3 separate regions of the Homo sapiens genome follow, and all the other regions are linked to region 3. Evidence: promoter capture Hi-C in 16 types of primary human blood cells and fetal thymus (Javierre and others, 2016). All regions are on one chromosome and are shown on one strand. The core of a region is centred on a gene start or on the middle of the fragment in contact, and the rest is flanking DNA. Distances in the headings are between cores, read along the strand shown.

What was found. Contacts are between HindIII fragments. The CHiCAGO score rates a contact against its expected background, and 5 or more counts as called.
Region 1: the fragment with the promoter of FBXO40 here is called in contact with the fragment with the promoter of SLC15A2 in region 3 in 1 of 17 cell types (neutrophils); the score reaches 7.0 in neutrophils.
Region 2: a fragment that was not itself captured here is called in contact with the fragment with the promoter of SLC15A2 in region 3 in 1 of 17 cell types (monocytes); the score reaches 7.6 in monocytes.

What each region holds. Positions count from the first base shown.
Region 1 is chr3:121,591,936-121,594,688 of GRCh38, reverse strand. FBXO40 (F-box protein 40) reads right to left here and starts at 1,310. Exons shown (of 4, transcript NM_016298.4): 1 at 1,187-1,310. RefSeq lists enhancers at 638-1,289, 1,290-1,940, 754-1,953 and a silencer at 1,073-1,367. The HindIII fragment of the contact is 3,467 bases long and covers 1-2,753 here.
Region 2 is chr3:122,312,690-122,315,636 of GRCh38, reverse strand. No RefSeq gene overlaps it. Among named protein-coding and RNA genes, the nearest start is that of CSTA, 11 kb to the left of the region's middle. The HindIII fragment of the contact is 1,390 bases long and covers 795-2,184 here.
Region 3 is chr3:121,892,875-121,895,817 of GRCh38, reverse strand. SLC15A2 (solute carrier family 15 member 2) reads right to left here and starts at 1,417. Exons shown (of 22, transcript NM_021082.4): 1 at 1,237-1,417. The coding sequence starts at 1,341. RefSeq lists enhancers at 1,925-2,457, 2,458-2,943. The HindIII fragment of the contact is 13,918 bases long and covers 1,083-2,943 here.

The DNA.
Region 1 (2,753 bases), core at 61-2,560, 300 kb after region 3:
CGAAAAAAAGGTGTTAAACTCTGCGGAGTTTGAATAGTATATACAGAAAATACAGTTGTGCTTATTAACCAGTAGTATGACACAGCAGACGAAATTTTAAGCTACATGAGAATGACTTGCAAGCAAACATAGCAAATGTTGACTGGAGAAAAGATCACAGCATTTAGACTTTAGAAAACAGAAATTCTGATCAGGCACAGCGGCTCATGCTTGTATTCTCAGCACTTTGGGAGGCCGAAGCGGGTGGATCACTTGAGGCCAGGAGTTCAAGACCAGCCTGGCCAACATGGTGAAACCCCATCTCTACTAAAAATACAAAAATTAGCCAGGCGTGGTGGCACAGGCCTGTAGTCCCAGCTACTCAGGAGGCTGAAGCAGGAGGCTCTCTTGAACCTAGAAGGTGGAGGTTGCAGTGAGCTGAGACTGCACCACTGCACTCCAGCCTGGGCAACAGAGTGAGACTCTGTCTCAAAAAAATAATAACAATGAATTAAATAAATAAATAAATAATAGAAATTCTGGGCCAGGCACAGTGGCTCAGACCTGTAATCCCAGCGCTTTTGGAGGCTGAGGTGGGCGGATCATTTGAGGCCAGGAGTTCAAGACCAGCCTAGCCATCAAGGTGAAACTCTGTCTCTACTAAAAAAATACAAAAATTGGCCGGATGTGGTGGCATGTGCCTGTAGTCTCAGCTACTCGGAAGGCTGAGGCAGGAGAATCACTAGAACCTGGGAGGTAGGGGCTGCAGTGAGCCAAGATGGTGCCACTGCACTCCAGCCTGGGTGACAGAGCAAGACTGTCTCAAAAAAGAAAGAAAAGGGAATAGAAATCCTGGATTCTAGGCCTTCCACTTGTTTCCTCACCACCTCCTCCACTTCCCCAGATCCCCCCACCCATCACCATGTTGTAACTTTACAGATATCATAACTACTCTTGTTGATTATAGAAGAAAGAACCTAAGCTGTCAGAAAGCAAGTACTCTACCTGCTCTTGAAATGGAAACAGAAATTTACACACGGCTGGATCTCATTCTCAGTGCCAGCCTTTCCCCCACATCTTTACATAACTAATTTGCTTAACAATCCTCTTCCACAGGACACAAAAGTGATATGCGGCTCAGCTTCATCTGCATATTCACCACTGAATGTCCTCGTCATGGTGCACCTGCTCCTGTTTGAATACTTACCTTAATGGAACAGGCTGAGTCAGCATCTGCTTGCACCTGAACCCTTGATTGCAAGTAAGCGGATTGCCGGGAGGTGGCTGGGTTGCATCAGCTGCAGTAGAGGACAGCGTTCTGTTGGGAAGGCAGGGAAAGGAGAGAAAACTTCAACAGAAATAGTCCAAGTGTTGCGAAGTTAAAAATAAAACGATATCACAAGGGGCAATGTGACCAGGCTCAGCTTACGACTTTTTCCTTCCCCTGTATTTATCAACACTCAGTCTCTACTGGAGTGGCATTTAGCAGGGGAAACTGAATGGGAAGTGAAGTTTTATATCAATAGGTTTTCTTTCCCTTGAGGAAGGAGGAAAATCCTTTTAAGAAGGATCATTTTCAAGGCCAGAACAGCCTCTCAGATTCCTGCATGTGCAGTCGGCAGGCCCAGCTGTGCTGAAGGAGGCTGGCACAGCCTTCAGGACTGGCTGCTGCTCTAATTATAACCATGCTCCTCACCTAAACCCATCACTGGCTGAAGCAGCAACTTGTGCAAATGACATGGTGTCCTGCTTCAGTTTCTCCTATCTCTTGTCGTGACAAGTAAGTGTCTGTCCTCCCCTGGTCCTTTCATCTTTCCTGGAAAAGGGAGAGTTTGTAATTCAGATACCAGGTGTAGAGTAAATCCAGTGTGAGAGAATTAGAGGTTGTAGGAGGCTTTAGCTGTCATTTAGTCCAGCTCCCTCTTTTTACAGATGAGGAGACAGAGATTCAGAAAAGGGAAATTGCTCATCCAAGGTCACACATCTCGTTAGTGGAAGAGCCAGAGGAAAGCCCCAGAGAGCTTGTTTAACTCTCAGTCTAGCGTTCTTTATCTTATCATCTTCAGATAAACTCATTCAGGATCTTGTGAGTGAAAAAAATATAGAATCCCGGCTTTGGTGTTTTCTTTTTCTTTTTTTTTTTTTTGAGACAGAGTCTCGCTCTGTTGCCCAGGATAGAGTGCAGTGGCGTGATCTCGGCTCACTGCAACCTCCACCTCCTGGCTTCAAGTGATTCTCCTGCCTCAGCCTCCTGAGTATCTGGGATTACAGGCACGTACCACCATACCTGGCTAATTTTTGTATTTTTAGCAGAGACGGGGTTTCACCATGTTTGTCACGCTGGTCTCGAAATCCTGACCTCATGATCCTCCCACCTCAGCCTCCCAAAGTGCTGGGATTAGGTATGTGATTTTGACAAATTTACTTAACCATTTTCTATTTCAGTTTTCCCCATTGTGAAATGGCGATGATACTTGGTGCGACCACAGGTAACTGTGTCAGTACACATAAGGCACATGAATGATATGTACCACATGCCAAGTGCTCCACAATGCCAGCTGTTATTTGAATGTATTTGAATGTATTTTGACTAACAGCAGATGTGCTAAATTTGGCTGTGATTAACAGCCATCGAATTAACCTTTCCCCTGGATTCTTCATACATATATGTCCTTGGAGGTAAACTTATTTGGAATGAGCAAATAGCAGTTGAAAATTGTAAAAAATTTCTACACTGATCTTGTATCTTGAAACTTTGCTGAACTGGTTTATTA
Region 2 (2,947 bases), core at 240-2,739, 420 kb before region 3:
ACCCTCTGCCTTATAAGGACAGAGGGCGTTCTGTATCCCGGGGTTTTTGCCTTGGTGTACCAGAAGAACCAGATCACATGTGGGCTTGGAGAATGAGTGTAAGGATTTTTATTGAGTGGTAGCTCTCAGCGAGGTAGATGGGAAGGCCAGAAGGGGGCTGGAGTGGGAAGGTGGTTTTCCCCTGCAATCGGGCTTCCGGGCAGCTGGGCTCTTCTCCGACCACCCCAGCCAAACTCTGCATTGTTCCACCAGTCGATGGCCTGCCGAAATCTGTCAGTGCCTGTGGGTGTGCTCTTACGCGGGTGTGTTCCTCTCAATTTCCAGCCGCTTGTGTCCTCAACCATTGGTGTGTTCCTCTTGATGTCCAGCTGCTTGTGTGTGTGCCCGCTAGGATCTTGGAGTTTTTATAGGCACAAGATAGGGGTATGGCAGCCCAGGGTGGTCGTGGGAAATGCAATATTTGGGCATGAGAACAGAAATGCCCATCCTCACCAAGGTCTGTGGGCACAGGTCTGGGGCTGGATCCCCAGCGAGGGACTACGCCTTTCCCTTCCCAGCACTTTCCCGCCCCACTTGCCCCACTCTGTATCAGGAGCATAGTTTGCAGGGCTGTAGGAACAAAGAGCTACCCAGCATCTTTTCAGAGTAAAATTTTCAGCCACCCGCAACTTTTCTCACTTCAAAGTGAGTGTAGCAGCAATCATTTCCCTCTCTCTTCTCTTCAGGACAAAGAAACCAGTGGTCTCAACAATCCCAGTGGCTTTTGGGTGCTCTCAGAACAATGTAGAGAAGCTTGTATGGGCTCAGGGGTCATTCAAACCTCTGCTCAGTAGCCTGGATTGTGAGTTGAGTTGCGTTTTTGCCCTTTAGGGGAGAAAGAAGTTGTTGTAGAGGCCTACCCACACTGAATACTCATCAAATGAACCAGCAATACTGGAGTTGCCTCAGTTTTTATGACTAATAGTAAATTCCAGGGTGGAGTAATGTTATACAATCAATGTTGCTGTGCCTGTCAATATAGAGAAAATTCTGCCCTGCCAGAAATATACACGGATCATAGGCTCTCCCAGTGTGACTTAGTATCAGTTTATGCCCTAGGAAAAATGAGCCCTAAGACTCATACATAATCATAGAACCAAGCTCTCAAAGGCTTCTTGATAAATGTTAATTTATGAGTTTGGTTTTAGCATGGATTAATTATGCTGCTAGGTTCAACTTAGCAGTGCTCTGGTAAGTTGGGCTGGGAACCACCCACACCAGAGTCAGCTGGGATGCCTGTTCAGTGCAGATTCCTGAGTCCCATTCCTAGATTCATTAAATTACAATCTCTTGAGGGTGGGCTCTAGAGTCTGCATTTCAAAAAGAGCTCCCAGGTGATTCTCATATGCATTACATTTAGAAGCCTAGTAACTTACAATGTTGGTGTCCTAAGTTTATAGAGGCAGGAGGGAGGTGAAAAGGTGGAAATCTGGAAGAGTAGTCCACTGCTAGGTGGAAAACATTTTTACAAAGAGAAAACACGTGAAAACAGCTGAAGAAAGAGCCAAAGCAGATGTTGGCAACACGTGCTATCCATATTGAGGTGGGTGCAGGTGGATTCTGGGTTCCTGTTGCAGCACATCTAGTATATACTACATGGGGGCCTATAACATGTCAGTCCTGCAAAGTTTTGTCCTAACCCAGTGGCCTACCCCCAATCCTAGCTGAGGATGCTGTGCCTAGGCAGGTGGAGCTCTTTAATCAACAGGGACAGGTGGTGGCTATAGCTTCACCACTTCATGGGAGTGTCATTATCTTCTATGTCATTTCCACCTGGATCCTTCTAGTGTTCCTTTTCCCCTGCACTGACACAGCCACCTGGGAGAGAAGGGAAGGGAGAGTTAAACTTTAAAACTTCTATTTATTTGTATCCATTGATATTTAGAAACACTGGATTCTTACAGAGGAAGTTTTAAAGACTGAAATAGCGTATTAGCAACCCAAACCTTACATTAAACTAAACAAATGAGGTCTTGGCATAATACTTCTAAGATGTTGGCAATTTACAACTTAAAAGCTCATAGCATAGAAACTGAGGGGGAATATTGCCAGGAATTATGCAAACATACTGGCGGTGATGACTTTGCAACATCTTTCAAATTCACCCTTCCTTGCTGTTTTCATAGCTATCACTCCCTTAAAGCTTTCATCACCCTCTTATTGGCTTATTGTTGACACTCCCTGGTTGGATCCTACCCTTCTAGTTTCTCCTGAAAACCAAGCTCTTTCTCATACACTGAAAAAATATTGCTTCCTAACTTGGGTACTTCCTGTCGTCTATCAAATTCATTTACAATTTTAAGAATAGCCTCCAAGTACTCACAGGTCTTCCTGAACCAGATTCTCTCTCAGAGTTTCTCTCTAGCTGGGTCCTCTTAGATCCTCTTGCACCTCTTTCTCATTCTCATTCTTGCTCCTGTCTCCTTGTTCATACAATGCCCCTTGAAAAGGATGTCATTCCTTCTGTTCTCCATTAATCTACATGCAATACTGCTTTCAAAAACCACACTACCCAAAGCCTTCTGTGGTTTCCTCTAGTTCTTGGTTTGTACTACATATTCCTGTTATCTCAGTTATTACACATATATTTTCTGTTTATCTTCTTGCTGATCTGATTATAATCTCTTCCATGGCAGAAACTGTTGTCTTGATTGTTAGCCATCACATCTCCCAGATTATGAAACACAGCAGCTGCCCAGCAAATATGTGAACAAATTCATAGATCTCACCACTTTCTCATTGGGAGAAGAGGGCAACCAGCCAACATGGACTTCTGGAGTCCTTGAAGGGCATTGGATAAACATGTCTTTGTCAAGTTTTAGGCCAGGCGCTGTGGCTCACGCCTGTAATCCCAGCACTTTGGGAGGCTGAGGCGGGTGGATCATGAGGTCAGGAGTTCAAGACCTGC
Region 3 (2,943 bases), core at 168-2,667:
CCTGTAAAATTAAATGTCTACTCTTCCTACTAAAGAGATTCTATAACATTTTCATGATAATCCTACTGGACATTAAAAGAATTATGCTTTTCATGTAATATATCAGTCAGAATATAAGGAATGTTATGTTTTATTTTAATTCCCTATCTATTACAATAGACCAACTAACATGAGAAGAGACATAGAGGTATCTGTCCTCAGTACAGTCAAATCTTGTAAGATTTATATTGCCTCATTTCATGAGAAGTATATACATCTTTGCAAGTAGCCCTAAATTCTTTGGGACCAGAAGAGATATCATTAACTAAAAAAATAGGCAAAATAATAAAGTAATGTATTATTCTTTTAACCCTAGGGATATATATAAATGATCCTCCTAAATATTAATATATTTTAATGTTTTATAATAGCTTGTTTGAAACATACAATGAACTGGGCTTCTTACCTTTGCAGCTCACAGCTTGAGAATTATGCAATCTGGAGTTTAGCCGACACACTGTTAGCTAGTTAGGCAACACTGCCACTGGCTGTGTTAACATACTGATACTGGCATTGTCACTACACCTGTCTCAAAACCTCTGTTCTGTTATTCCAAAGAAATGAGAATAACATCACCTTTTGGCCCACTGTAAGAACTCAGTAAATTTTGGCTATCATTACTATATCCTCCCCACTTACAGAATTTTAGTGTAAGAATTGACTGAGATGATGAGTTTAGAAGTGCTTTAGCGAGTATATAAATGCAAAACATTACTATTCTCTGTTTCTCTGTCCTATCTCCCACAGTAAACTGGGAACACATAGTAACAGAAATTGGATCTATTCTGAAACTTCCATTGGTGTTCAGCAGAAGACTCTGCACACAGGGAGAACTAAGGGCAGAGTTTTTATATTGGTAAAGAAAGAACAATCACACACAGTTCTTCAGACAAGAATGCTTGCCAAGTTTCCCTGGACATTCGAATTGCTTTTTTCCCCCAGGGAAACAGAATATGCAATGAAATTCAGCAAGTCCCTGGATCCCAACTGAAGAACTTTGACTACCTCTTCCTGCTGCTTTGTCTTCTTATGTAAAGGAAGCTTCTGTTTAGATTTGGTTTCAGGTGAATTCTAAATCCAAGAGAGAAGCATTTTAATACCCTAATACAGCTCAGCTGGAAGCTCCAGAGCCCAAGGAAGAGAGCCAAAAGAGGGAGGCCATTCCTCTCAGAGGCAGGATTGAATCTAAGGACTCACCGGAGATGGCTTCTTTGGAGGGCTAGGTGGTCGAGGTGGTACCTCTTCAATGGAGACAGGTGAAAAAAGAGTTTCCTTGGACTCATTTTTCTGGAAAGGATTCATGGCTGGCTCCTTACTCTCTCTCTCTCCTCAAGCATTTGGCTTTAGTAGGCAGTTAGGACAGCTGCCAGCCTACTCTGAAAAGAAGGACTGGGAGGGGGAGCTGGTGGCTTCAGCAACTCAGTTTAACTCTGTGGGTGTCAGCTTCAATAGCTTCCTGATCCAGAGCAAAGCAGGAAGCTATAGTTAAAAAGAATGTGTAAAAGTACAGCACAGCAAAGTGAAAACATGCCAAAGACAGAATGAAACAATGCTAGAGAACTGATTAGAAAGTCTATGTTTAAGAAAGATTATCTTTGCAAAGGAGTAGAAGATAGTTAAGAACACAACACCTCGAGCACAGATTGAAAAACTGATTCCATGGTCAGGCGCGGTGGTTCACGCATATAATCCTAGCACTTTGGAAGGCCCAGGCAGGCGGATCGTTTTAGGTCAGCAGCCTGGCCCACATGGTGAAACCCCGTCTCTACTAAAAATACAAAAAAAAAATTAGCTGGGTGTGGTGGCGGGCGCCTATAATCCCAGCTACTCAGGAGGCTAAGGCAGAAGAATCACTTGAACCTGGGAGGCGGAGGTTGCGGTGAGCTGAGATTGCACCATTGCACTCCAGCCTGGGCAACAAGAGCGAAACTCCATTTCCAAAAAAAAAAAAAAAGAAAAACTGATTTCAGGGTAACAATAGCTGTAATTTATTGAACATCTACTATTGAAAGGTTAATATATATGAATTACATCTATGTTGTATATCTATAACATATATATTTATTCTAATTCATATTACTATCCCCATTTTATAGAAAGTAATGTTCCCAGAGGTTAAGAAATTTGTTCAAAGTACCTGTCCACTAAGTGGCAGATCTGGAATTTTCACTATGCCATGACAGCTGGGAAAAGTGGAGTTAGTGTCAGTCATTATTCAGGTATGGAGGTTACATAAATGGAATGTAGGAATGCAGAGGATTAAAATGCATTGGAGAAGGAAAGTCATCATAAAACTGAGTTTGGAAGATAAGAAAGATGGTGAGTTTTGGCTGGGTGCAGAGGCTTACGCCTGTAATCCCAACACTTTGGGAGGCCGAGGTGGGCTGATCACAGCTCAGGAGTTCAAGATTAGCCTGGCCAACATAGTGAAACCCCATCTCTACTAAAAATACAAAAATTAGCTGGGTGTGGTGGCACGCGCCTGTAGTCCCAGCTACTCAGGAGGCTGAGGCAGGAGAATCGTTTGAACCCAAGAGGCAGAGGTTGCAGTGAGCCGAGACCCCACCACTGCACTCCAGCCTGGGCGACGGAGCAAGACTTGAAAGAAAGAAAGAAAAGAAGGGAAAGAAAGGAAAGAAAGAAAGAAAAGAAGGGAAAGAAAGGAAAGAAAGAAAAGAAAAGAAAGGAAGGAAGGAAGGAGACTTTTGTTTTCAACATCATAAAAGTTCAGCTAGAAATAGCCTATAAGCAATTAAAGAGGTGGGGCTAAAGAAAATGAGAGAAAAGGATTGGTGATATACATTTGGGAACCATTGTTCTTCTTTGCTAAAGTCACTCCTTATATTTTCATTTTCTCACTTCAAGATTAATCTATTCTTTCATTTAATAAATAAAATTTAATTT